Linked DNA regions of Homo sapiens: regions 1, 2, 4, 5 and 6 are each linked to region 3. Evidence: promoter capture Hi-C in 16 types of primary human blood cells and fetal thymus (Javierre and others, 2016). All regions are on one chromosome and are shown on one strand. The core of a region is centred on a gene start or on the middle of the fragment in contact, and the rest is flanking DNA. Distances in the headings are between cores, read along the strand shown.

Evidence for each region. Contacts are between HindIII fragments. The CHiCAGO score rates a contact against its expected background, and 5 or more counts as called.
Region 1: a contact is called between a fragment that was not itself captured here and the fragment with the promoter of SPMIP7 in region 3, in 8 of 17 cell types (naive CD4 T cells, naive CD8 T cells, activated CD4 T cells and 5 more). The highest score is 8.9, in naive CD4 T cells.
Region 2: a fragment that was not itself captured here is called in contact with the fragment with the promoter of SPMIP7 in region 3 in 4 of 17 cell types (naive CD4 T cells, total CD8 T cells, fetal thymus and 1 more); the score reaches 7.5 in naive CD4 T cells.
Region 4: a fragment that was not itself captured here is called in contact with the fragment with the promoter of SPMIP7 in region 3 in 8 of 17 cell types (activated CD4 T cells, naive CD8 T cells, non-activated CD4 T cells and 5 more); the score reaches 9.9 in activated CD4 T cells.
Region 5: a contact is called between a fragment that was not itself captured here and the fragment with the promoter of SPMIP7 in region 3, in 2 of 17 cell types (non-activated CD4 T cells and activated CD4 T cells). The highest score is 6.8, in non-activated CD4 T cells.
Region 6: a contact is called between a fragment that was not itself captured here and the fragment with the promoter of SPMIP7 in region 3, in 1 of 17 cell types (M2 macrophages). The highest score is 5.0, in M2 macrophages.

Annotation. Positions count from the first base shown.
Region 1 is chr7:50,713,716-50,718,384 of GRCh38, forward strand. All of the region lies in intron 4 of GRB10 (growth factor receptor bound protein 10), which reads right to left. Among named protein-coding and RNA genes, the nearest start is that of GRB10, 67 kb to the right of the region's middle. RefSeq lists an enhancer at 1,495-2,010. The HindIII fragment of the contact is 1,101 bases long and covers 2,625-3,725 here.
Region 2 is chr7:50,741,429-50,745,817 of GRCh38, forward strand. The region is part of intron 3 of GRB10 (growth factor receptor bound protein 10); the gene reads right to left. Among named protein-coding and RNA genes, the nearest start is that of GRB10, 39 kb to the right of the region's middle. The HindIII fragment of the contact is 3,648 bases long and covers 1-3,078 here.
Region 3 is chr7:50,094,172-50,099,049 of GRCh38, forward strand. It overlaps SPMIP7 (sperm microtubule inner protein 7), which reads left to right and starts at 1,712. Exons shown (of 9, transcript NM_001161834.3): 1 at 1,712-2,467. The coding sequence starts at 1,915. It overlaps LOC124901630 (a long non-coding RNA gene), which reads left to right. Exons shown (of 2, transcript XR_007060321.1): 2 at 1-170. The HindIII fragment of the contact is 3,144 bases long and covers 1-2,731 here.
Region 4 is chr7:50,647,214-50,652,093 of GRCh38, forward strand. The region is part of intron 7 of GRB10 (growth factor receptor bound protein 10); the gene reads right to left. Among named protein-coding and RNA genes, the nearest start is that of DDC, 84 kb to the left of the region's middle. The HindIII fragment of the contact is 3,495 bases long and covers 1,595-4,880 here.
Region 5 is chr7:50,785,684-50,790,735 of GRCh38, forward strand. It overlaps a transcript of GRB10 not described here. Among named protein-coding and RNA genes, the nearest start is that of GRB10, 5.3 kb to the left of the region's middle. The HindIII fragment of the contact is 3,227 bases long and covers 1,048-4,274 here.
Region 6 is chr7:51,086,695-51,091,250 of GRCh38, forward strand. All of the region lies in intron 6 of COBL (cordon-bleu WH2 repeat protein), which reads right to left. Among named protein-coding and RNA genes, the nearest start is that of COBL, 230 kb to the right of the region's middle. The HindIII fragment of the contact is 3,249 bases long and covers 329-3,577 here.

The sequences.
Region 1 (4,669 bases), core at 1,925-4,424, 620 kb after region 3:
TCCACCTCCTCTACTATCACATCACCTCCACCTCCTCCACCATCTCTATCCCTCACCTCCACCTCCTCCATCTCCTCTACCACCTCCACCATCACTTCCACCATCTCCACCATCACCTCCACCTCGTCCACTTCCTCTACCACCTCCACCCTCACCTCTAGCTCCTCCTCCTCCTCCACTACCTACCCCTTCATCACCACTTCCACCCATTCCATCACCTCTGCTCCTTCCCACCACCCTTCACCTCTTACATCTCCAACACCTCCATTGCTACCAACACATCCACCTCCACACTCTTCATTATCTCTATATCCTCCTCCCCCTCCACCACCACCTCTACCATCACCTCTACCTCTTCCTCCCCTACCTTCACCCCTCCTCACCACTTCCTCCATCCCCAACTTCAACAAAAAGGCAACTATTCAGACACCAAAATATCCACATGTATTAACATAATATTAATTTGTTAGAATAGTCAACATGTAGCAGTACCTTAATCGATCATGAGTTCTAGAGTAACTTAACAGTCTGAGAAATCAGAAGATCAGAATCTCTAAACTACCCACTTAATAATTTTGACAACACAATCTTTAAAGTACCACAAGAGGATCAGTGACAATGCAAGTTATAGTCAAATTATATTTATATACTTTAAATATAACTTGAGGCCAGGAGCAGTGGCTCATGCCTGTAATCCCAGCACTTTGGGAGGTCAAGGTATGCAGATCACGAGGTCAGGAGACTGAGACCATTCTGGCTAACACGGTGAAACCCCGTCTCTACTAAAAATACAAAAAATTAGACGGGTGTGGTGGCGGGCGCCTGTAGTCCCAGCTACTCAGGAGGCTAAGGCAGGGGAATGGCGTGAACCCAGGAGGCGGAGCTTGCAGTGAGCCGAGATTGCACCACTGCACTCCAGCCTGGGCTACATAGCGAGACTCTGTCTCAAAAAAAAAAACAAAAAACGGAGTGCAATCCTGAGCCCTCCTGAGCTCCCAGGTGGGGTGCACAAAGCCATTGCAATTGCACTGAACCCAACTTCTTCAGCTTCAAGCTTCTCGTTTTCTCTCTGGGTCCCACAACCCCAGCAACCTCTACACTAAAACCAGAGAACCAAACCATGTGCGGCTGTGAGAGTGATCAACAGAGCCAGGGTTGCCCTCCTAGCAGATCAGGGCCGTAGGAGGCACATGACACACCCACATTCTTCCCCCATGAGCAGAAGGAAGAGAGAAATCTCTTCCTTGAACTTTCTCAACAATAATCTCAGAATTTGGAAATAACTCTCATTGTCCTGGCTGACCAGGAAAAGGCCCCAGGGTTTGATATGATGAATCCTTGGTGGTGGCTTTTCCTCATTTCTAAGTCCCTCCCACAGGTAGAGGGCAGGGGGCCAAGGGTAAATGGCAGCCAATGCCAAGAAGCTGGAGGCGGAATGAGGTAAGCTAGGTCTGGCCTGGAGCTCCAGCCTGGGGCTCCCAGGTGTGGCAGCCCTTTGAAGGGCAGGCGCGATCTGGAGCAGGGAAGGGCATGGAGCAGCTTCCAGGTGCAAGCAGAAGGGCTGGGCTGGCAGGGCAAGAGGACGGCGGTTCATAGTGATGCTCCCCAGAGGCTTTGGATAAAGCTCGTTTTATTCATAAAAATGAATAAACAGCACAGATCCCAGGGCTCAGGAAACTCAATCCCTCTGCCAAAGAGTGACTTTTCCCAGTAAGACCAAACTCGGGCAGCCATTACAGCAGGAACAATTGGTGGATCCCAACCTTGCTGTGGGCCATAAGAAACAGTTCACCTCGCCCTTCAGGTATGAAAAATCTTATTGTGGCATGAGCCAAATGTTTACAAACTGCCAGTGTGACAAACTATGATTCTGAGCAAATAACTTCACTCTCTGGGCCTATTTCCTCACCAATAAAATCAGGTTTTTGGACCATATGACGTCTAAACTTCTTCTGAGTTCCAAAGCTGGGTCTGCACACTCCACAAAAATGTTCCAAAGCAAATCTACTCCTAGAACCACGGTTAAAATAATATCATGGGTGACTTCTGAGCTTCTGGCCAATATGGAATATAAAGGATTAGATGTACCCTCTCCCCCTAAATAACTAAAACTGAAACAGTTTTCATACATTTGACAACAGGCAGCATGGGACAGTGATTCCTGAGACATGATCCACATGACGCAGCCCTACTAGTGCCCACTCACTGGCTGGAGAGAGCTTCCAAGCTGCAGCGCAGGGAGGGGGAATCTCCCTTCCAGGCAGAGCCTAGGATCGTCCTAAGGAGACAGAGTTCAACACTCAGGAAGGTCAAGGCAGAGAGGAGAGCGCTCAAGAGAGGGGGCTCTCCACACACATCTCCAGCTGAGGATTAATGACGCATGCATGTAAGGAAAATACCAAGACTGGGAAGAACCACCAGAATGAAGGAGACAGAGCCATCTGGAGAGAAGCGTGTTCCCACCAACCCAAATGGAAAACTTCCTTACGCATGGGACACAAGACAGCCCTCAGAAGGGTCCTGCCTCAACAGTGGGGGCAAATTAGCCCCAAACTAAAAGTGACTCTGGGCCCAGCTAACAAAGCTTATAAGCCAGCCTCAAAAGGGTCAAACTATTTCCAAGAAGCTTCTTTCCAGAATAAAGCCCAAAATATTTAAAAGAATAGCCCCCTCCCAAGAAGTAGCCAACACCCAACCAGGTGAAATTTACAATGACTGGGATCGAAACAAAAAGTACCAGGCATGAAAAGAAAATAAAACCCATAACGATAAGGGAAATCAGCCAAGAGAAACGGATACAGAAATGTCCAAGATGAAACAGCAGGCGATATATTAAAATGATGAAGATAAATATGCTCTGTGCATTCAAGAAGGAAAAGCAAAGCATGAGTGATAAGGAGAGAAGTGGAAGATATAAAATGACCAAATCCAACCCTACAGATGAAAAATGCAACACAGGAGATGAAAAATATGTGGGCAGGATTAACCAGACATTGGACACCACGCTTCTCTCCCCTCCCTCCATCCCCAGTGACCAATCTCCAAAGACACACTGTGAGGCTCCCTCGCCCAACGGCTGGCGTGGTCTGGAGAGGTCTAGGGTAGGAGCACCCTATGAAGACATAGTAATAGAAACTATCCAGAATGGCACACAGAGAGAAAAGGAAGATGGAAAAGATTACGATAAACTACCTCCAAATGATGAGGCCAGATGAGGGGAGGGAGGAAGGAGCTCAGGTTTGGGGCCAGAGAAAATAAAGGCTGCAGCCAGCACTTTCTGCATTCCCGCTATTTGGCCGGGCTGGATAAGTCAACCAAAGTTTCTGAGCCTCACTTTTATTGTAGGCAAATTTGGATCATACCCATTTCAAAAAGTTTGGTAGGAAAACTGAGTGAGATGAGGTATACAAAGTCCTGTCACAAAACACATGCTAGCTCCCTTCTCAAACTCCAAGGAGACAGTCTCCCACTTTGTGGCAGCCTAACAACTGCAAGGGGGTATCAAGGACAGAAACACAGAAAGTCTTCACCATTCCTTCCACTCAGAGGTGAACCTACTCTTACGTACTTGAAAAGCAGTTATAAGCACAATAGTCTGGTTACTGCTCCAGCTTCAACAAACAGCAAGGGAGTCAGGGGCAACTGGGCTCCACCACAGGAAGCAGTTGCCAGGCCATGTGCTCCTAATGCTGCCACCGCAAGGAGAGACACTCACTCACATGAGAAGCTTGAAGAGTGTGTGTGTGTGTGTGCATGCGCATGCGTCACAGTCACATATATATGTATATATACATAAATATGAAATTTGAACCATGTGTGGAAACACAAGTAATACAAACTTAAAATGTACACAGATACAGGTAATCTACAGATATGACAACAGGCCCCTCCTTATCCACCACTGAAGCTACAAAACATTTCTTTACCTAAACACTTTCTCCCTAAGTTAGGAACCTCGTTCATTATCAGTAGATCTGAAGACAGCGTATCTTCTCCTGTGTCCATATTATCAACCAGGTGTTTAGATGGAAATTGCTTTTTAGCACCACTTAGCCAAGGCCTCATTCTCTGAAATGAGGTTCTTGGGGTCTCTGGACCCATTGAGGAGCGATGGTCAGATACACAGATCGGTTCACCCTGTGCTGGTACCAGCTCCTGAAGGGACCTACGAGACGCAACCACAAGGCCATGGCCATGCTTTGCTTGACCCCACTCCAGACTGCTCAACATGCAGCAGGCCCAGTTCTGATCCCCCCAGGCAGAGACTCCTCTGTCACTCCAGGGAGTCCAAAGGGCCCTGGGCGCCCAGCAAAGGGAGGAGGCCAGGGACTCAGTCGGCCCAGACAATTCCAGCCCACTGACTAAGTGCCAGGACAAAGAGGGGACAGGGGATTCCCAAGGCAAGATCCGGAGGCTTGCGGAACTGTGTCCAGCAGGAAGGAAGAAAGGGAAGGGGATCCAAGCTCCCTCAAATCAAGAAGCCCAGTGCCCAGTTCAAGGGAGAATTAACAGAGAGAGGGGAGGCCAGTTTGGGGAATGGGAAAATGAGTTTGGTTTGAAATGTCCTTCTTCTGAAATGCTGGCATTACCTTCACCTCCCTGAATGCCAGTCAGCCATCTGCATGGGTTAGTTACCCATGCAGAAATCAGTCAGCCTCCAACTCCTCCT
Region 2 (4,389 bases), core at 5-2,504, 650 kb after region 3:
CTGCATGCAGCTGCAGACAGGACCCCAAATGTCCAGCACTGAGACAGGGACCGTAGGCCAATGTGCCAAGGGGCTCCATGCTACATCCAAATAAAGAAAACCAGAAATTAGGAACATGTGTTTAAAAAAAAAAAAAAAAAAAAAAAACGAAGGCACTTGAAAATTAAAAACAAGCTCTGGCCTAAATAAGTGGTTCAAGGAGGAAATAAAGATACAATACAGTCCTAGACAATTAGGACAATGCACACCCCCATGTGTCAAGACAAATAAAATGAAGCAAGAGAAATAAAAGAAGAAAAACTCATGCCATGAAATGCATATTTTATAAAGACAAAATAAATGAACACCAACCCATCCATCTTGAACCAGAAAGAGGGAAATATACAGTCAAAAATCGGAAAGCAAAGCATGACAAAATTGAAATCCAAGAAATATAATAAAAGACAAATCTCTTAAATGTATAGTCAAAAAAACATACAAAATTTTAAACAATGAAATACAATGATTTTTAATCACACAGTAATTTTTATGCACACCAGTAAAGAAATAAATTTTGAACATTACTGAAATTTTAATTTTTACAAAAAAAAAAACCCAAATCAGAATCATCTAAAGTAAAAACACTTAAAATATAAACAGTGAAGATGAAACTGAGTAAAACCCAAACTCCACCCACCTACCAATATAAAGAAAGTGAATGGACTTGGATGGAAGAACCAATCAATGACCATAATTTGTCAAGGGAAGGAAAGAAAGATTCTGAAGCACCTGTTAATAACAGGCACTTGGCTCAGTGCTTTTTATGTATTTGTCTATGTGTAAACACACGCGCACGCGCGCGCGCACACACACACACACACACACACACACACACACACACACACACATACACGGCATCCATTCCCACTGATCACAACAAGAAAATGAAGTGCTGAGATGAAGGCCAAGGGCTGGTGATGGGACTCAATGAAGGAGACGAAGCTCAGTGCAGGAGTCCATGCTCTTAACCAGGATCCTACAAGTCCTAGGGTTTTCAAATGATGGTCCCCGGACATACAGCATGGGCATCACCCGGGTGCTTGTTAACACACAAATTCTGGAGCCCAGACCCTGACCTACTAAACCAGAAACTCAGTGGAGGGGGTGTGGTCCCATAACATGTGTTTCTGCAAGCCCTTGCATGATTCTACTGCTGACATAGTCCCAACTACTGGACTGCATATTACATCACTAGGGGGAAAGGGGAAGACTCTGCATGCCCAGGCTGCATCCCAGACCAAGGAAAATGAATCTCGGGGATGGGGAGGGGGTGGGGGGTAATAGTGTTAAAAGCTCCTCAGCTGTTTCCAAAGGTAAGCACCACCACTCTTTTCTTTAAATTACTGTTGGTTTCTATGATGTCTGCAGGGGGAAAATATTGGGGAAAAAATTCAGTAACGCTTTGAAGAATCATATCTCACTTCCTGGGGGCTGGGAAGGGGGAAACTGCTGCTACTACACTGCTTGAAGTAAAAACTATACTCGGTTCCTCAAAATGCCCTAACTGAATCCTAAGTACTAGATCCCTAACTAAAAGCTGTACCTGTTCTGCTTCCTGCCTTTAAAAAAAATAATAACTCTTGGGTTTTTTGGCATATGCAAATACAAAGAATGCCTTTTAGAACACCAATTTCCGCTTTTCTTCCACAATGCATTGATGGGAGAAGGGGGAGAAGGGACAGATTCAAGAGCTATTTTAATTATCTGCAGCAAAGCATGACCTCATTGCTTCCAACTGCACATTATTAGGTACAAGGGTCTATATGTGACCATAGGTATGAGGATGACCTTTGATTTTTTATTCTCAGCAGTTTGAAAAAGACTTGTGTGGCATATTCTATTCAAGCATCTACAGTTCCTTCCACTTCAGTAGTCTGGTCAGCCTCCCGACAGAAAAGAGTAAATTTTTTAAATCAATACATGATCTTGAATCTGTTTCAATGGCTTTGAAACGTAAGCGTGGGTCAGATCACGCAGTGCTGCGAAGCACAGCACCACTTTACGGTGGCCACATCCCTACTGTCATTTGTGGGAAGCATCAAGTCCCCTCAAGAAACCTGTGCAGACACACTAGCAGCATCCCCACTCAACCGATGAGAAAGAATCCAAGTAACTTGGCCAGCAGTTACTCCTGTTGCACAGCTGCATAGTTAATTTGAGATATGCTCTCCGCAAATCCAGAGCCTGAGTCCTGAAGGGGACAGCACAGAACCCCAACAGCAAGATCCTACTCAGGAGAACCAGGAGAGGCCGACACCAGAAACTAATTTTCACTTTCTAGGCACCCTCACCACTAGCACTGGTGTCAGAGAGAAGGTCTTCCCTTTTGCCGTGCTGTGGTCCACACACAGACATGAATGCCCAGGGCAGGACTGTTAATGCAGTGATCCAACTGATCTGAGACCCAGAAAGTCAACAGAAAACTTGAGCAAAGGTAACCACAGAAAACAGCCTAGGCTATCCACAGGCAGGAGGTCCTCGAATCCCTCCATCCTAAAAGCCTCACCAGAGGAAAACACCAATTTTCTAGCCCTGAAAAGAGGTGGGGTGATGAAGGCCACCTCCACATGCAGCCTTCTCAAGCCGCATTCACCGAGAGTGGATACCCCTGCTCTGTGGTAGGCATGTGCAGAGAAGAGGAACCCATGTGCACAATGAAGTCTAGACACACTGTGGAACAGGTCAGAGTACTGCCTCAATCGTAGAGATTAGGACGCAGGCGCTGCAACACCACGACCACAGGACTTCATGGAAAAGAAAAGAAACCGCGTAGAACCATCACAGGCCGGCAGGCTGGAGTCAAAGAAAAGGACGGCAGGGAGGGAGCAGTATCAGGTGCTCCAGAGATCAAAGCATCCTACCTTTATGCACCCTGGGAATATTGGCATGGAGAAGGATGGGGAGAGAAGAATAAACATTACACAGCTGAGCACTGAACAAGGTAGGAGTTGGAGCACGAACATCCCATGCAGTTAAAAGTTCATGTATAATTTTTTACTCCCCAAAAACTTACCTACTAATGACCTACTGTTGACTAGAAGCTTTATCAATAACAGAAAGTCATTAACGCACATGTTGTATGTCATATAGTTATTACATACTGTATTCTTAGAATAAAGTAAGCTCTTTGGGAGCACTTCCAGTTTCACTAGTATGGGTCCCCTGTGTTATTCAAAGTTTACGGTATTGCATTAAACATGAAAAATACACAAGACCCACGAGAGGTCACTTTTTAATGCAATGAGCAATTTACTGGGATGGGAGCTTCTCACATGGAGATGATTAGCATCACATGGCATTTAAAGCGTATACTTGCAACATTTGAGCTCACAGCAACAGTGGAATTATTACAGTAGTACAGTAATTTTCATAACTATGAAATTAAGTGCAGTATGTACTACAGTTAATTCTATGCAGTGATGATTTCATACAGCACCTTCATGGGTTTTTTTACATTTCTGTCAACAAATGGCTCCATGTATGGTCTGTGTTTGTGTAAGTTTTGACAAACTTTAACTTTTTTATGATTTGTATATATTTTAGAGTAACAGCCTAGTCTTCTACATATATTTTATGCATTCATGACATAGCCTTTTCTTAATTTTTTTGGTATTTCTCGGCTATGCTGTAAGATTTTTCAAACTGTTGCAAATCTCAAAAAAATTTTCTAGTAATTACTGAAAAAAACTCCACATATAAATAGACTCACACAGTTCAAATCCATGTTGTTCAAGAGTCAACTGTAATTTTAAATTTGCAATGCGTATTACTTAAATATAGATTTAAAATTGGGTTCCTTTTAAAAGAACTTATTGTTCTCTGATATATTAATATTTTTCTAAATTCATTAAAGATTTGTTTCTACCTTTGGAATCCTTGATACTTGAATTTTACAAATTCTTACAAATTACCGAATGCCTTTGGGTGTCTTCCAAGGAATAGATCTTTGTACATTTAAACTATAAAAAGAGAAACAAAAATTAAGACACCAAATCAATTAAGACAAAGAGGGGAACAATTGCCATGACAACACATTACCAACTATAACCCCCACTGGTCCGGAAGCACTGTCTTCCTTTGGGAATAGATAAAGCCAACGGGAAGGAAAAGCAAAACCACTCAGATCTGTCTTTGCCGCCTAAAAATAGTGAATTTCATAACTGTTGGGAAAACGGCTAGAACTTTATCCGAAAAATAAAAGATGCTCTATAAAACAGCCCTTGGATTTAAACACTTTATAAACTAAATGCGCTCCAAAGTCATTCCAATCAATATTAGATGGTAAACCATTTGTCCCTATAATAAAACCCAAATAACTCACAGAAGACATCTTTTTACCTAAAGAAAACT
Region 3 (4,878 bases), core at 462-2,961:
GAGACTCAGAGTCCTTTTCCTTTGTCACATCTCTAAAAATTTCCTAGTCTTTGTTGAAGATGCTATACAAGCTGGAATTCAAAGACGCTTCTTTGAGAACTACTCATTCTCTGGGTGTTCCTCATATATAAATGAAATATATTAATAAACATCTGTTTTTCTCTTGTTAATCTGTCTCTTGTAAAGGATCCATTCTAAGTACAAAGTTATGGGGGTTATTATTTTCCCATACACAGCCTAAGAGGCCATTTATAGCTAGAACTTGTTTTAGAGAAATTGAAAGAGACTCATGCCTCTACTTTTCTGCTGCTGGAAGGATTTACTTAATGGGAGCAGAGCTGTGATAGAAATAAATCTTAAGCAGTTGGTTTAAATACATTGAAGAATGAAGTTTGAGCAACTAAATGTAGAATGCCTAATTACAAGTGAGTTATCACTTTTGATATGAAGAAATGAGTGATCATGGGTGGACTAAAAACTGTCACTTGATATGCTATGATCTGGATGAAGGATTTAAAACTGACAGCCTAACCACCTAATTTAATCTCACTTGTTTAATAGTATATCTCAAAATTGTAAAGACTTTCAATGGGGCATAGGCATTCTGATTGTACCAAACATATCACCCTTGACAGTTGGCCTGATTAACGATTATGTGCCTGACTCTTCAAAGCTAGAATCTTGCCTGTTTTAACATTTTTGCTGCAGTAAGGATGATGTGAACTTTTACCCCAAATTCTAATATTTGCATTTCCTCTTATAGTAGTTCATGCAAGATGAAATTATCCAGGTGAAAGAGCTTTTAAGTGAACCAATACATTAGTGATTTAAATGATATTTTGTGTGTAGACAGTTAACTGATACCCATTGTGGTTTCCTAAAATGAACTTAAAACTCTTACTGTTCTTACTCTGGACACCATGGCAAATTTAAGGGAAGTAAAGATAATTTAGGGCATGTAAAGATGTACCTGTACTTTCATTATAATTTTCTGTTTTTCTTAAAAATTAGATATACTAGGGCTGGGCACAGTGGCTCACACCTGTAATCCCAGCACTTTGGGAGGCCGAGGCGGGCAGATCACAAGGTCAGGAGATCGAGACCATCCTGGCTAACACAGTGAAACCCCATCTCTACTAAAAATACAAAAAATTAGCCGGGCATGGTGGCGGGCGCCTGCAGTCCCAGCTGCTTGGGAGGCTGAGGCAGGAGAATGGCGTGAACCTGGGAGGCGGAGCTTGCAGTGAGCCAAGATCACACCACTGCACTCCAGCCTAGGCGACAGAGTGAGACTCCACCAAAAAAAAAAAATTAGATGTACCAATTTAACTTTAGTAATGTTTATATTTTGTAGTGCATTTAGATTTACATTTAATTAGATAGCAAGTGTTATATATATAAATACTTAATTGTAGTCACATATATACTTTTGAGAAATGTATTGTCACTGAATTAACTGCTTTATTTACACTCCTTAAATATATTTTATACCCATAAAATACCAACTTATGGAAAAATTTTAAAATAAGTAAATGAACACAGCTTTCCTGAGCACTGGGGAGAAAAGTATCATGGAAATATTAGTACCAAGGCTATTTTTGTTTTTCTTAAGAATTGTGATGTACATAATAAATGGTTCAATGTGTTAAGAATTCTAGCCGTTGCCAGGCAACAAGGGCTCTGCTTTATTCTCCTTATGTCATGTTCCTTCATTGCCCTATTCTTCCTTTGGTGGAGGAAAATATTTGCCTTAAAAAGAAAAACAAAATTATCTGCCAACATTTAGAAAGCTGTGTCAATTTTATACTAGTTTAACACAGATCTTTAGTTATTGGCAATAGAGTTTATATAGTTAAATATAAAGGAATTATCAGAAATACTTTATAGTTATCAAAAATTCTAAAGAAAAAGGCCATGGATGTAGAAATTCAGGACACACCTGGAAAGATAAGTATCTCTAAAAGGTCCATCCTTTCAGGAACTGTTGAGAATATAGATTACCCACACTATTGTGATCTCTTAAGAAAAATGAACATGCCTTTTGTGAAAGGTCTTGAGAACAGACATAACTATGGCAGGTTTGAAAAGAAATGCAACCCTGCTTTTCTTAAATTTCACCCTTATCCCCCTTCAGTTTTGCCAGACTATCATTTACATGATCCTTATCCCCCACCATATGGGCCACATTATCCATTATTTCCACTTCGGGATGATGTGACCTTAGGTGATTCCTGTTCAGGGTTTATGAGTCCTGGTGGTGATGCTGATTTAAATCCTGGCATTGGCAGAACCATACCAACCCTAGTGGATTTTAGTGATGTGAAACCTCAACATCGAGTTCCCAGACCAGACACAGGATTTCAAACAACAATAAAAAGGCAAAAAATTCTATCAGAAGAACTGCAACAGAACAGGAGATGGAATTCCAGGGAAGTACCAGACATTTCTATCAGAGCAAGACTTGGAGGTAAATGAAGTGACATGAACTTTCTATTTTTTAAATGCTCAAGGGAAGAGAGTATGGACATAAGATTCAATATTTAGGCAGTTAAATTAACAAAATTACAATGATCTGAAAAAGGTTTTATTTTTAAATTACAGATTATAAGAAACAAAGGAATGATAAACCTTATAAACTTATTTGTAAAAGAAAATTTATTCTTTAAGAAAAGAACATTCATTAGTGATTAACACAAAGTATATAACATTATTTATTCTAGATATATGGATAAGCTTGTTTTACCACAGGGGAATTTATGTATCACTTTGATAATTGTATAGAAATCCTCCTTATCTGTCTCTCTCCTTTGAAAGAATGAATTCACTGATATTATGAAAGAGTTAGTTTTAAGGATTGAAATAAAATGGGAAAAATTTAAGTACTTGAACGTACATTTTTTGGCTCCAATAAGAACAGAAGCTGAAATGAAGCAAACTCTGCATAAATAGCTCCACAGCCATGGAGGCAGGTTTGATGACCTCTTACTGACATCTGCACCATGTGGTTTCTCTGTAAGAACTCCTGTAAATGGAGTTCCTCTAAATGATGAGAAACACCTCCAAAGGAAAGCCACAGGTACTATTTTCTGTATAAAAGCTGTCTGGCAGGCAGGAATGTAAAAAGATCAACATTTTTAGCATCGGAAAAGGAAAGGGCCAAATGCTATAGGAAGAATACTTTTAAACATTATTCTAAGAAATTATAGGTTGAAGAAATGGCTTAGCAAAGCTAACATAGGGCTAAAATGGTGTTAACAGACTTTGTACCACCAAGTCAGAACCAAGTATAGAGCTCATCTGTCCCATGTATTTCACTGCCTGAATCAGTGAAACAGAGGAGTTTAGAGAACAGGCTTTAGACTCAGACTGTCTGGCCTTGAGCTCTGGCAAAAACTCAGTTGCTGTACGACCCAGGGCTAGTTACTATTCTCTTTATGCCTGTGTATCCTTACTTGTAAAACTCACCTAAGAGTAAAACTTCATAAGATAATAAGTAAGGGTCATTTTATGTTAAAAAAAAAAAAAAACTCACCTAAGAGTGAAACTTCGTAAGATAATAAGTAAGGGCCATTTTATGTAAAAATACCTAAAATAAAGAATAAATGTCAGATTGTAAGAAGTCCAAAATTTTCAGTTTCTTCATACATAAATTAGGAATAATCTTACTTCTTTTATACATTTGTAAGAATCAAATGAATTAACACTTGTAAAGTGCTTAGCAGAATCCCTGAAACCTGATAAAACATTTCATTAATAGTAGCTCTTATTATTAACTATTAAGAGTTTCAAAAAGTAATACCTGCAATTTGGGGACAGAGTTCAATATAATTTGTCCTAGGCTTTCAATGACTTTGTACATCCTGGAAACAATTAATTGTAAATGATAAGTACTTTCAGGATGTAACAAACCTAAATACACGTTATTTCTAATACATTCTCATAAAGACGGTCATTTCAGAATTAATTACATACACACTGGTATGCTCTTCAGTGGACTTTCACAAATATCAAAGAAAAATCATAAAATATTATATTGCTGATTTCTACTTGCCCCATTCCAAACCTGTGTAGACCTTTTACTGAGTTTAGTACTTCCTTTCTTGATCCAGTTGTCTCTCTTTATCATCTACCAATTAACAATTCTAAACTTATTCTAATTACATTCAGATCCTTTATAGTACTCTGCCTCTCATTGCAGTAGATGATCCAGTCTTTGTTATCACAGAAGAGATAGACCTCATCTATTGTCACTTCCTTGATTGTCCTCCACTTTGGCCTCCTGATATCAATATTGATACCACTTTGTATGTCTTTCTATCTTTTTTTAAACCATTGTATTAAGTCACTTTGCATGACAAAATACTAAAGGCTGGGTGGCTGAAACAACAGATAATTGTTTCTCATAGTTCTAGAGGCTGGGAAGCCAAGAATCATGGAATTGGTATATTTGATTGCTGGTAAAGACCTTCTTTCTAGTTTATAGAAGGCATCTTTTTCCTTGCATCCTCAGAGAGAGAGAGAGAGAGCTCTAGTCTCCCTTCCTCTACTTAACACTAATGCCATCATGGAGGTCTTACCTTATTTGCCTCATCTAAAGCTAATTACCTCCCGAAGTCTTCACCTCCAAATAACATCACATTGGGAGTTAGGCTTCAACACACGAATCTGGGGGGATACAGACATTCACCACAACCATCTTTATAGTTAATTAACATTAAGTAGTATATTCATACTGTGCAAATATCACCACCATCCATCTCTGGGATTCACTTCATCTTGCAAAACTGAAACTCTTTACCCATTAAACAACCCCCTATTTCCCTCCCTGCCAGGGGTTATGAACTCCTGGCAACAACCGTTATATCTTCTGTTATCTAT
Region 4 (4,880 bases), core at 2,092-4,591, 550 kb after region 3:
TTTATAACTTAAAAAGCAGATCAAAATAGTTAGTGCTCCAGAATTACAAGAGGGATTTCCACCAGTAACATCTTTTTTTGAAAAAAGTTTCTTTGGTGGTAATCAAACTTTAATGAAACATTAAACCTAAAATGTAACCTATAATTTGAAAAAATGTTTTCAGATTTGAGTCAGATTGGCCGAACCTTTTCAAGCCATCTCAGGCCCAGCTACATGGGGAGGGTGCGGATGTGCCCTCACTGTCAGTCACTGAGCAGATGCTCCCTGAGAACCTTCTCCGTGCCAGGCACCAAGGTGCTGGGATTCGGGTCTGGAATAAAACCCCTTGACTTTATGGAACTTCATTCAAGTAGGGGAGATAGACAAAAAGCAAAATTCAGAGATTGTTAGATGGCAGAAGGCAAAGGAAAAACATTCAGCAAAGGGCTGCTGGCTAAGAAGGTCCTCAAAGGCAGCAAAAGATGCCACAGGCCGACTGTGATGCTCCCTCCCAGGCGGCAGAAACTGGGGACCAGCTGAGTCAGGAGGCTCCCATGACGACACAGGCAAGGAAAGTAAAGCCCAGGCCTGGGTCCCACAGCAGAGACCAGGCAGGCGCTGTCCAATTCTGGTACACAGGCTGGGGTGGCGTGAAACTCAAAAGAGGAGTGAGGAAGGGAATTGGGAATTCTGATGGGGGTACTGGTCTGCTGCTCTGAGATGGGAATTTGGAGGTATCATGTTTGGAGGGAAGGATCAGATGCTGACTTTGGACCTGTTGCGTTGGCAGTGTCTTTTAAGCACCCACATGGAGGTGCCATGTTGGCAGCTGGAAACAGGAGTCTGGGCCTTGAGGAAGAGTTTGGATGGGAATGTAAACCGGGGAGTAATCAACATAGGGACAAGATGGAAAGCTGAGGGAATGGCCACGGCTGTCCAGGGAGGGAGCGCAGAGAGGGGAGACGGAGCACCAAGGCCCAGTGACTGAAGAGCCAGCAACGATGGCTGAGAAGGAAAGTCCAGCAAAGAGGGTGGAAACCCAGACGGAGCTGTGGAAAGGAGAGCAGCGAGCGACAGGAGCCCTCATGCTGCTGCAGGCCCGGCAAGCGGAAGACAGAGAACCCCGCTGGCTTTAGCCATGTGGATGCCACCCTGATGGGAACAAGTGGAATTGAATAGCACAGTGGGGACAAAAGCTGGGCTGCTGGAACGTTTTTAAAAAGGTTTAAAAAGGAGCATTAGGAAACCAAGGAAAATGATAATCTTCTGAAAGCAGTAATTTTAACCACTGCCTTAATCTGTGAGGGAAAGGAAGGCAGAGCCTCGACCCAAGGCGGTAAGGAAGACCCATCCTCAGTTTTGCCTTTGGGAATCCTTATCCCAAGTCCTCTGCCAGCCCAAGGATGGCAGAGCATAGGTCCCCCTCCCATAGAACGCCTGGGGACTTTCCAGTTGACCACATCCCTCCTACAGCTACTCCCTCTGGGCTTCCAGAGTTTCCCTTCTTCAGGGCAGTGTGCTGTGAGCCCAGAACACTACTTCTGGAGGTCATCAAGGTCACTGAGACATAACAATGGACTTATTGTTTGAAGTAGTCCCAGGTCCTTTTCTTTGAAGCTTTTGAGAGCAATCTTCTCAGCTCTCCCGCTCCACTAGGAGAGGACAAAGTAAATATTCTGGGTGGGACTCCCAGGCCTCAGACCTACTCAATGTGGTCGGGCTAGCTCCTGATGGATGCATTGGTTAAGGTCAGCTGCCTCTTCTTCCTGCTCCTGAGTGGCCACGGGACTTGGGGGTAAGAAACCCATGTTGGGGAGCTGGGTTCTGATCCTGGCTCTGCCAAAGCAAGGGCGACCATCCCCCTAGAGGAGCATCCAGAACTTCTATAAAAACAAGGCCATCGTCCTTGTACTCGTCTGCCTGGGATGTGCTGGGCTCCATTCTCGGAGGTGTGGACAGAGCAGTGAATAAGAGACCCTGTCCCTGTTCTGGGGGACTGACGTTCTAGTGGTAAAACAGAGAACAAACAAAATAATCTCAGGAGACAGTGAACAACACGGAGACCACAAGCAAGTGCTGTGTCAGAGGGAGGCTGGCCAGGGGCACTGCCTTTTCCAAAGAAGCCCAGGAAGGCCCAGAGGAAGAGATATTTGAACTGACACCTGAATGATGACCAAGTGGCAGTGAAGAAAAGGTCTCAGGAAAGAGCCTCTGTGTGGAGACGCCACAGGGGAAATGCACAGAGGTGGACCTGAGCTGGCAAATGTGAGGGACCAAGAAGGCCAGGGCAGCTAGAACACAGTGACGACACACACGGGGGAGGGAATGGAGAACGGGACTGTACACCCCACAGGGGAGAGCTTGGATTTAATTCTGGGTGTGATGGGAGAACAGTGGGATTCAAATGACTCTCTAGAAATCATACAAGAGCTGCTGGGCTGTGGATGATATGAGGCAAGGTGAGGTGAGCAGGAGACAGGCTGCTGTGTCGTCCCAGGCTGGGACTGGAGATGGCATGGTGGAGAGGACAGGAAGCACTGGATATGGGACACATTGGAGAGGGAGAGTTGACTGGATTTGTACCTGAGTCCAAAGGGGGAATCAAGGATATGCTCCTCTTCCTTGGCCACAGCAACTGAGCGGACAATGACCCCTTTTAGTTAGGTGAGGAGGCCTTGGTGTGCTTCGACTATATTTTCTTTTGTTAAATTTCACATGGCAACTAGAGACCCAAGTGAAGACGGAGGGTACCTTTCAGTGGTGACTTGTCCTGGTTATAGATCTGGGTCATGAGCAGAGAGATGGCATCTGACGGCATGGGGCCAGATGCAGTCTCTCAGAGAGAAGACCACTAGAGTGGGGGAGGCTGAGGACAGAGGCTTGCGGGCCTCCAAACACCAAGCAGCCTGGCAGAGCAGGAGACAGCGAAGGGATGAAGGAGCAGAGAGATGAAGAGATCACAAGCTGGGGTCGAAAACACTTAGGGAAGCAAGTTTCTAGGAATCAAAGCTGTGTCACATGCTGCTGAGATGCCACCCCCAACTGGCCACTGATCTTAACTAGAGGCAGGCCACAAGGCCCCTTGATGAGACCCATTTCAGGCACCTAGTAGAACAGAGCGCCAACCAAGGTGGGTGGGGGAGAAACCAGGAGAGGAAAAGTAGAGACAGGGAGTCAAGCAGCTGGTCCTGGGAGGTCTGCAGAAAAGCAGCATAAAAGGAAGCAGCAGCCAGAGAGGAATGTGGCCACAGAAGGGCTTCACTTAGATGAGATGTGTCAAGGCACGTCTGCATGCAGGCAGGAATGATTCTGGAATGAGGATGAAACTGACCATGGAGGAAGGAAAAGAAAATCAATGACTACAGACTCAACGTCCTAGAGAAGATAAAGGGGGCAGCTGCAAATGGAGTGGTGGCCCTGGGAAGATGTAAGGATGTGTTCCCCTGTTTGGGTGGGAAGACAGGCAGGTGAGTGCTGATGGGGAATGGATAAAACAGGTGGTAGACACAGCAGGTGGCTCTCATTGAGAGCAGGTCCTGCCTACTAAGCCCAAGGCTACGACACCAGGTGAGAAGTTAGAAGGGGGAAGAAAAGGAGTAACAAGTTGTCTTTTTCATGAAAGTAGTGAATAAATTGGGAGTAGGAAAATCTCCTGGGAGAAAAAAAATCAAGGGATAGAGAGAGGAGACTTACCTTTTTCTTACTGATTTATAAGAGCTCTTTATTTAGGATATTGCAAATGTAAATATTGCAAATATTCTTTTGCAGCTTATCAACAGTTTAACATTTGATTTACAGCATTAATTTTCTTCATGGTCAAATCCAGCAATCTTCCACTATGATTTTACCTATTGCTTTAATAGTTAGGGTTTCATTCCTTAATCTGAGGACCAATTAATTATTCAACTATATATTTTTCTATTCCTCCTACGGTCTGATTTTTTATTAACAGATTAATCAACCTAAAAATATTTCAGTGTATGTGTATTAGTTTGCCATGGCTGCCATAACAAAATGCCATGAACTAGATGACTTAACAGAAACTCAGTGTCTCACAGTTTCGCAGAACAGAAATCCATGATCAAGATGCGAGCAGGTCTGATCCTCCCGAGGTCTGGAGGGAGAACCCACTTCTGGCCTCTCCTGGAGGTTCTGGCGGCTGCTGGCATCTTTGTCATTCCTTGGCTTACAGAAGCATCACTGCAATCTCCACCTTTATCTTTATGTGGCATTCTCGTCCCGTGTCTATTTGTGTCCAAATTTCCCCTTAGAAAAGGACACCAGTCATATTGGCTAAGGAGCCCAGCCTACTCCAGTACGACCTCATCTTGATGAATCACATCTGCAACATTATTTCCACATAAAGCTACATTCTGAGGAACTGGGGCTAGGACTTCAACTTATGTATTCTGAGGGGGACATAATTCAATCCATAACAGTGTGCAATAAGGCCCTAATTCAGCTGCTCATCCAAATAGTTTATAGTTGTCGGAGCACATTAAATTAAACAATGATGCCACTTTTACAAGATTCTAACCTTGTATGTATTTGACTCTCTTGAGTACATGCTTCAGTGCACAGAACTTTCACTCTCCATTCTTCAACTCAAACCATGTGGTTTTCATGACAGTAGCTTTATAACATCAAAGCCACTCTTTTGAAGAAGGTAATCTGTCAGCATTGAAAGACCAAATCCAAATGGTCTCTTCTGTGTTTCCATCCAACCCAACCTCTTGGCAGGGCTGGACCCTGCTGACGACCCTCACTGGACGCCCAGCCACACAGGTCCCACTCAGTCTGTTCTAACCTCTTCATCTCAGGCTTCCATGTACTGTCCCCACTTGGAAGGGCCCTGATCTATTCTGGAAATTGTAGGTAGAATTTTGGATTTCAAATTTTCA
Region 5 (5,052 bases), core at 1,411-3,910, 690 kb after region 3:
CAGCCTCCCTCCACCAGGCTGGCACACCCTCCTACAATAGAAGCACAGAAGGCTTTGCCATAGGCTCTGCTTTCCGGGTAAGCTGGACACAAACAAACAGAAAAATTAAAAGTAAATCATTTACAAATGGGAGAGAAGAAACGATACACAAAAAGTTTTTAAAAATTAATATCTACAAATGAGATAGACGTATCTATGAAATAAGAATATTATGCCATTAAAAAAAGAATACTCACTTTGAATGTCAATAATGTGTCAATAGTCAACTGTAACAAATGTACAGGATTCCCAGTAGTGGGAGAGGCTGTGCGTGTGTGGGGCAGAGGGCATGTAGGAAATCTCTGGACCTTCCATTCAGTTTTGCTGTAAACCTGAAACTGCTCTAAAGTCTGTTTTTTAAAAAGAATATAAATATATATATAGAGAGAGATCCTAAGAAATTCAAAATGAAAATAGAAACAAAATCCAACAGAAAAGTTAAAAGGTCAAATTGAGGACATATCCCAAAACCTAAAAACAACACAACAGACACAGACTATTAGATAAAAAATACAGAGAACCAATCCAGGTGGCTAAAAACCAAATAACTGCCATCCTAGAAAGAGAGAAGAGGAAAATGGAAGAAAAGAAATGAAAGGATTAATTCAAAAACATGTCCAAGACCAGAAAGATCTGAGATTCCAGCTTCAATGGGCCCTCAACATACCCCACACACAAAGTGGAGACCCAACAAGACTCATCTTCAAGGAACTTCGGAACAAAGGCACAGAGAATATCCTACAAGTGTCCAGACATGACAAAACAAAACAAAAAACAAACCAAAAAACCACTCTGGTACTCTTTCATACACAGAATCAAGAATCAGAAGAGCTTCTTTCTCAACCCCATTCTGCCTAAAGGCAATGGAAGCCTCTAAATGTTTTAGGGAAAACTATCTTTAATTTAGAAATCCATATTCAGACAAACCGTAAACTGTGAGAGTAGATGGACATTTTCCCAGACATGCAAGGTCTCAAAAAGTTGACATCTTGTGCACCACTTTTTGGAAGCTTCTATAGAAAGTACTCCATCAAATTTTGGAAATAAACCAAGAAGAAAAGTCATGAGATCCAAGAGAAAGGCAAAGGGGCATTCCTGGGACAATGGAGAAGAAAGACTCCAAGACAACAGCTGTGCAGGGAGCCTCAGAGCAACCCAGCCTGCTGAAAGCAGAAAGGCACACAAGGAACTGCTTCCAAAGATAAAACTGCAGATCACCTTAGGCCTTGGAAAAGAGATTCACACAACTCTGTAAGTTTGGAGGGAAGAATGGTAAGTACATTTTAAAAACTAGGCAAAAACAACTCCAGGAGAAAACAAAATGTCCTAGGAGAAAATCACAGTTATCACAGTATACTACATGGCTCAGCTATGAGCAGCATTAGGGGACCATCCCAACACTGCATACTGATGGAGCTGAATGGACCAGAAGAGACGATGAAGAGACAAGAGTGAGTGTAGGGTGGGGATGGGACAAAGGGCATCATCCTCACCTTCCATGGAGTTTGAAATCAAGAATCACATGAAAAATGGGGCTCTGGAGAGCAGGAGGAGGAGGAGGAGGAGGAGGAGGTTGCCAGGAATCGCAATCTATTGTCTAGACCTCTTCAGAAATATGGAAGTACGTACAGAAAAAAATCTGCTGATAAGTTACTTCTGGGGAATTATTTCATCTTTAACCTATGTCTACATATCACTCTGATTTTAAAAATCCAAACTAAATTTTAAAATAGTTTGCTCTGGGTGTTGAGGAATTAGGAAACCAGGTGACCCTTCAGACGAAGAGAACAGAAACACTGTGTGATATGGACAGGCAAGGACAGCAGGGGGACAGTGCCCTGGGCAGGGACGGTGGGTCAGGACAGGGACAGCCTGTGTCCACTCACTGCCCTGCAGGCCTAGGTGGGGAGAAGGCCGGGGAGACCTGTGATGGAGAGATGAGGCGACAATGACACTAGGAAGCCCTCCTGACTTATCCCTCCTGCGTCGCTCCATCACCTCACTAGGATCGCAGGCCAAGACACTCAACGTTCTCCTCTCTGGAGGGGATTCTGTGAGATGCACGTGATTTTCTTCAGAAGAGGGAGTGCGGTACCCTAGAACAGACACCTGGAAGCTCAGGTAACACCCCTGCAGCCTGTCCTGGGCCAGGGTGGTGTGGCCAGGGTGAAAAGATGGGCGGGGGAGGTGCCCTCTGGCTCAAATCAGCCCATACGGGACAATTAGAGGGCACTGAACATGACCCAGCCAGCTCAACTTCCCACAGGATGTGAAGACCGTCTAGGAACAGCGATCTCAAGCAGGGCCCCAGGCTCAGCACCAGGCACTGTCCCTGGGCAGGAAGCTGTGGTACAAACTTCTGAATTTAAAAGTTACTCAATTCATGGTAGCTTCTCAAAGCAGGGAATCCAAAAATTATTCTATGAGGTATGTGGTATTATAAAGGTTTTTATACTAAAGGGAACTCTTCACTTACAAAAGGCTGGAAGCCACTGCCTAAATACTCCCAGGGATGAAAGTTAAAAATCAAATAAGTAAACTAAAGGCCCTGCACATCAGAGAAGTGGGGACCTGCCATCTCAGTGGGGCCCAGGTAGCTTGCAGTGAGCAGCCTTGGAGGTTCCTGACCCTCGACTCCCATGTGAAAGGACAAGAGAAGGTAGAAAGCGGGTCTTCAGCTATCCCTCATGGTCCTCTATTGCTCAGACGTCCCCTTGGAGCTCCCAGAGTGAGACCCCTGACAGCTCACAGACAGGACCAGACAGAGAGCAGTCCCCAACGCAGTGCCACCTGCACTGACCCAGCACATGAGGATCCCAGCCCCCAACCCCACATTAGCTCTAGTGACCTTAATGACACAATGATGAGGACCAACACACGCCAAAGTGCCAAGTACTTTGGGAAACCCATGTTAATAGGCAAGACTGCCACTGTTCATGCCCAGTTCCATTTACCTAATACAAAACCTTTCAAGAACTTCAGGGAGAAGCAGGACTGCCCACTAGCACAGCCCTGGATAGAGCTCGGAGCCACATCCCAGGGGCACATCAGCCTGACCAGGATAAGCGGTCCACAGTCATTTCAGTCCCAGCTAGGATAAGTGCCTCTGTAAGAGTCCAGACACCAACCGTGGGGGCCTGAAGACAAATGCCACAGGCTCCACAGGCCTGGAGACCAGAGATCTGTCTCCACACCCAATGCTGCTGCCCATCAGAGCTTACGCACTGCAGGGGTCTTCACAACTTCTGCTCCTGGTTGAAGGAAACCAATTTTTGACACCTGCTATTCACTATTATCTGGTTCAAATGGTTTGCAGCCAAGTGAAGTCTGCAGTACACCAGCTATCTTTGCTCTTAGAATTCTACCTGTGAGGAGTTCAAACTGTCACGCTAAACACAGTCAACAAAAGGATTCTTCTGAGCACTGACTGTGGCTCAAAGAACATTCAGATAAATTCAAACAAGATTTTGTGCAACTAGCATGTACAAAGCACTGGAAGACAAAAATACAAAAGCCAAGTCCCCTTTCTAACCAACCTTATAAATTAATAGCAAGCAGGATATCAAGTCCACAAACTGCTCTAAGACAAGGCTGACGGCAAAGTGCCTACAGACATCGCCACAAAGACTGCATGAGCTCTGCATCGTGCCAATCACACACATCACACCTCGTGCTACCTTCCCAACAAGCCGTGGGGATAAACACGCCTATGGCTTCCATTTTAACGGATCAAGTTGGTTCACTTGTTCAGCCTGGCCAAACTAGTAAGTAGTACAACCAGGAGTCAACTGAGGCAGTGTGCCTGCTGCCCTGGTCAAATAGAGCAGAAAAGAAACGATATGGTGGGAGGGGTTATTCCTCCCCAGCGCCCGTTCTCAGGCTTGACGTTAACAACAAAAAGTCCACTCTGTTGCTGGGTCCAGCCCAAATAATAAGCCCCTCAAATTAGGGATCTGAAAAGACTAGAAGAATCTCCCCAGAAATCCATATGTAAAGTAGATGGTTCAAAAATATGAATATTCTAATACAGGGGAAAAGAAAAAATCTCCTTAGAGTCACTATATCCTAAAAGCAAAAAAATCAGAACCACTCATTTCTACCTCTGAGATTATTTTTGATAACCCCAGGAAATGGCTTCTTCTGTTGCCATCTCAAAGGACAATCACACCATTTTTCAATCCATTATTAAAGAAGAGCCATCAGCCTGCCTTTCCACGAGTAAGCGGGTGGTTTTAAGCTTTGACTGCTTTTATCTCCCTGCAGTTAGCAGGCCCTGTGATCACCAGGAGCATGGACAAAAGCCTCCAGAAGACAAAAGTGCAGGAAAGCTCATTTCTCAGAGATCAGTTCAGAAGTGGTCCAGGTTGGGGGTGGGAGTCTGATGCAAAGGTGTCCCAGCCAAGAGGAACAAGGAGTGAAAACAGATACAGCTCCCTAAAAGTGTGCAGCTAAAATATTCACACAAATTAAATACCAGCCAGGGGCTGAATGGATCAGACCAGTTATACCCCTAATAGTATGCAAACTCTGAAAGTGATCCCTAGAACTCCAAAGTACCTGTCTGCCAAGTCTCACCCACCAAGTAGTTGGACGACCTTAATTTCTTCCATAATCTCCCACACTTCTGTACTTCTACAGTTATATAAAAAATAAAATAGCACAGGTTAAAAGAAAAGTCTCCACTACCAGGAAAAAAAAAAGTTTATTTAAACTTTGAAGGACTGATTACTCAAATGAAAGACAAGGCAAATATGTTCTCCTCACAAGCCATACAATGCCACGTTGGTTTAATAAACTGAGAAACAGACGCGGGGATTACGGAGCAAACGTGCAAAGGCACAGGCTTCCCCTCCAGGGAGCAGGACCAAAATCCCCTGCATTTAGCTCTGAGCTCTGACAGGCTGGCAACCTAACCCTAGATACAAGCTCAAATACATTCTACGATCCCGTAGGTTTCTCTTCCCCTTGCAGTTAAGAGTCGGACAGAATTCCAAGGAAATAGATTCCATTCCT
Region 6 (4,556 bases), core at 703-3,202, 990 kb after region 3:
ATTTATTGCAAAAAAGTTAAAAAATATATGTAAAAGGAAGAACATAATCACTTTATTAATACTCAAACTACTAACAATTGGCATGTTTTTCTAGACTATTTTTTCTTCTAAAAATATTTTTTTCTTTCCTTCTGTTATAGTATATTATAACCACCTCCTATACCTCTAAAATTCTGTAATATATTTTACATAAAACATGGACATAACAGAAAGTAAATAACCCCATAAAGATGAGTCAAAACCAGCAATTTATTGTCCACCACCCCCTCTCCAGCAGTAAGCATTTCACATTTTTTTTTTGGCATTTATTCCGTTTTTCTAAATAAGAAGCTTATTGTACTGTTTCTTGATTTTTCCATGTTAGGTATTGGCATCTACTCCAGAAGATGAGGATTTGGTTCTTTAAGACACACACATACACACAAACACACACACACACACACAGAGACATACACACACACACACACGCACAGACTCATACTTTTCCTCTCCATTTTCCAAAAAATTATAGCAAAAGATTTAAATTAATATTTACTATTTAGTTATATATATTTAGTTATAGTAGATATCAAAATTATGAAAAATATAAGTTTTCTTCAGCAGGAATTTTCTCCTCCTGAGATGTATAATGTATATCATAATTACAATTTCTAAATTACCTTTTTGTTTTCCCTGAACCTGATAACTGATTTGTTTTCTAGCTTTTTTCTTTAATTGCATTTCCTGGAAATTCCCATTCCCTCTATTCAGTTCTGATCCTTATGGATATTCCACCTGTTTTGTGTGGGGTTTTTTTGGTTGTTGTTGTTGCTTGTTTTTTTTGAGACAGAGTCTCACTCTGTCGCCCAGGCTGAAGTGCAGTGGCGCGATCTCGGGTTCCAGTGATTCTCCTGCCTCAGCCTCCTGAGTAGCTGGGACTACAGGCACTGCCACCACGCCGGGCTAATTTTTGTATTTTCAGTGGAGATGGGGTTTTGCCATGTTGGCCAGACTGGTCTTGAACTCCTGGGCTCCAGTGATGCACCCGCCTCGGCCTCCCGAATTGCTGGGATTACAGGTATGAGCCACTGTGCCCGGCCCCGCCTTTTTTTTTTTTTTTTTTTTAATTCTCTGCATCTTAGTGGTTCCCAGTTTCCAGCAACTTTCTGACACAAGATGCGTATGAGGAAGATTTTTGAGACCTTCAAAATGTAAGAATGTTTTTATTCTACTATACTGGACAGTCAGTATAGATGCCTACAGGAACCTAGGATGAAAAGAATTGTCCCTCAAAATGCTAAGCCATTACTCCACTGTCTCCTAGTTTGGAACTGTTCAGCTGAGACACCCGGATCCAGAGTGGGGCTCAATCTTCTGCATAGTATCTGCTTTTCCTCTGCAGGCTCAGGGGCTTCTGAGTCCTTCCTGCTGGGAAGTTTCATGATGGCAAGTGCTGGGTGGGGCTCTTTTCATTCATTGTCTGGGGCATTCACTGACCCCTGCAATCTGAATATCCTTAATTCTGCAGAATTTTTTAGTGTTATTCTTTTCAACTTTTTCTTTCCTCTGTTTCTTTCTCTCTGGGATTTCAATTAATTCAACACTGAGGATTCTAATTCAATTGTCTATTTTTTTCTTGAGTACTCTTGCCTAAATTTTTTCTGATTTCCCCCCCTCTTGGAAATTTTCTCCATTGTAAGACTCATGAATTTTTAAATTAGTTACTGTTTTTTTTTTGTTTTTTGTTTTTAATTTCCAAGAGCCCCTTCTTGTTATGTATTTTAAAAATAGCATCATGGTCTTGTTTCCTGGATACCATAGCTTCTCTTTCCTCTCAGAAGCTATGCTTTATGCTTTATATCTTTTTCAAGACCACATTTTAATTTCCATTTTCTTCAGCCATATGCATCGCACTTTCCTCCAGCATCCTTTCTGCTCTCTGTCTTGGCCTCTGCTTATCATATTTTGAGTCTTCCTCAAATTCATGACTGATTGTTTATAATATGTATGTTTCTGTGTCTAGAGTCTGTTCACACAGTAATGGGATTCCCAGTGGGGATCTGGGCAGAAATGCAGTAGCTGAGAGATCCCCAGATATTCATACCTGCAGGATTGTCTGCTAGCTCGGCCATCTTCTGCACAGGGGAAGCCCAGCTCCTGCCTGAGGGAAACTAGGCCTTCCCGAGTACTCTGGTGAGAGGGCCTTGAAGCTCTCCTGTGGCATGTGGGTTTTCGCTTATCCCTGTGTCGGTGCAGACTTGGTTGTGCCTGATGTCCTGAAGTCAGAGCCTCTTAGTTCTGCCACTGCAGGGGGTGGCAGTGCAGACATCTGGTTGTGGTGGGCAGGCAGGGGTATGGAGATCTTACTGTTTCACATGCAGGCATTCAGCCATTCCTTCATCATCAGCTCGTTCCACGGTCATGTGCAAACAAACATGTGCCCCAAATTCCTGAGTGTCCTAGGATCTGGCGTCTTCTGCTGGGCCTCTTTCACCCAGCAGTCAAGTTTCAGCTTCTTCTGCTTTACTAGGTATTTATCACAATCTAAATACACCGCAGGCTGGGCACAGTGACTCATGCCTGTAATCCCAGCACTTTGGGAGGCTGAGGCGGGTGGATTACTTGAGGTGAGGAGTTTTGAGACCAGCCTGGTCAACATGGCAAAACCTTGTCTCTACTGAATATATAAAAATTAGCCAGGCGTGGTGGCGGGCACCTATAAGCCCAGCTACTCGGGAAGCTGAGGCGGGAGGATAATTTGAACCTGGGAGATGGAGGTTGCAGTGAGCCGAGATCATGCCAGTGCACTCCAGCCTGGGCAACAGGGCAAGACTCCGTCTTAAAAAAAAACAAAAAACAAAACACTGTAGTCCCCAAAGTGTCTACTGAAAACTGTCATCAGTGGCCATTGCTTCTCTCGTCTTTGTCACAGTGAAGTAATACTTTTTTTTAGTGGAGTTTCAGAGGGAGAGACATAGATTTGTTTTGTTAGCCATATATTTTCCTGTAATTTTTCAGCTTTACTGAGGAACAAACAAGTAAACATTGTGTGTGTGTATGGTATACAACTGATGATCTGATATACATATCTATAGTGAAATAATCACAAGCAAGCTAATTAACATATCTATCAGTTCACATCATTACCATTTATCTTTTTTTTTTTCCTTTGTGGTAAAAACACTTAAAATCAACCCTCTTAGCAGAATTTCAACTATTTTTTAATGGCTGCCTAGTACTCCACAGAATTGATGAGCCATAATTAACTAAATTAGCCCCTATTGCCTTTAGCTAAATATTAAAATTATTTGGTTTTGGCAATAACAAATTAAACTTCTTAAAACACTCTGTAATTTTATCTTTTCCTCACATTTCTTTTTCTCTCTTTATTTTTCGAGTTTTCAATAAATCCATTTACTAAAACTCCTCAGGTATACAACACATAAAATTCAGTGAAGAGACAAGATCCTAAAATTGCTATCTCAATTTTAAGACTCCTTGTCATGAAGAAGTGATGTTGACTAGATAGCAGAAAAGGAAGCCCCGCACCTCAGTTTCCCCACAAAGACATCAACTTAACAGCAATTTGTAATCCAGAAGCTTTTATGAGAACTCCAGAAACCAGTTAAGAAGGCACAGGACCATAGGCAAGCTTAATGCCAAGAATGGCCATGCTGAAATGGGTAAGAAAAGCCATTTCACCTCAACTGTGACAGCCCTTCCCCTAACCCAGTATCGCTCAGTGTCTGCAGGAGAAAAGCCCAATTCATGGCTTTTCCCTTGGGAAGAAAAGAGAAGAATGGAATGTACATCTAACATTCCAGCTTTTCAGGGGGGCTGCCTGAGGGACTAGTTTATGTCTCGACTGACTGGGAGCACTGATGGGAAACTGGCACACTTTGAATGCCTGGGAGCTACTGAGAAAAAAGGAGCTCAGAGGCTGGTTGCAACAGCAGAGATCTGCCAGTGCCACAGGCAAAGGCCAGCACAGCTCAGTGCAATCAAGAGAAAGCACCCAGCTCACTGCTTATCCCTCGGGAGGAAATGAGTAAAAAGTACATGCAATGTTCTGGATTTGTGGGGAGGCTTGTTCAGGGACTGATTTCTGTCTCAGTTGACCAGGAATACAGACAAAACTGAAATACTATGGATGACTGAAGGCTTTAGAAAATAAGAGAGCTCAGAAGCTGGCCGCAGTGCCAGAAAATCTGCAGTACCATAGACAGATGCAAGAGAGAGCACGAGATTACAAGCTCATAAAGAAGAAATCAGCAAACCTTCTAATTGGAAAATACACCAACAAGCCCAGGGAAGATGGATATCCAGAAAAGGGTTGAGAGGCCCCAAGAATCTCTAGCTGAGCTGACTGACATGTTATTACACTGTAAGAAGCCAGTCCGTAAAGGCTGGAAGAGGTGGCTATTTTGTCAAATGCACAAATTACATTAAAAAATAACAAGGTACATGAAGAAACAGGGAAACATGGCCCAATTAAAGGAACAAAATAAACATCTAGAGAGAAATAACAATAAATGGAAATCTATGGCCAGAAAAGACAAAAAAATTAAAGTTCAGTG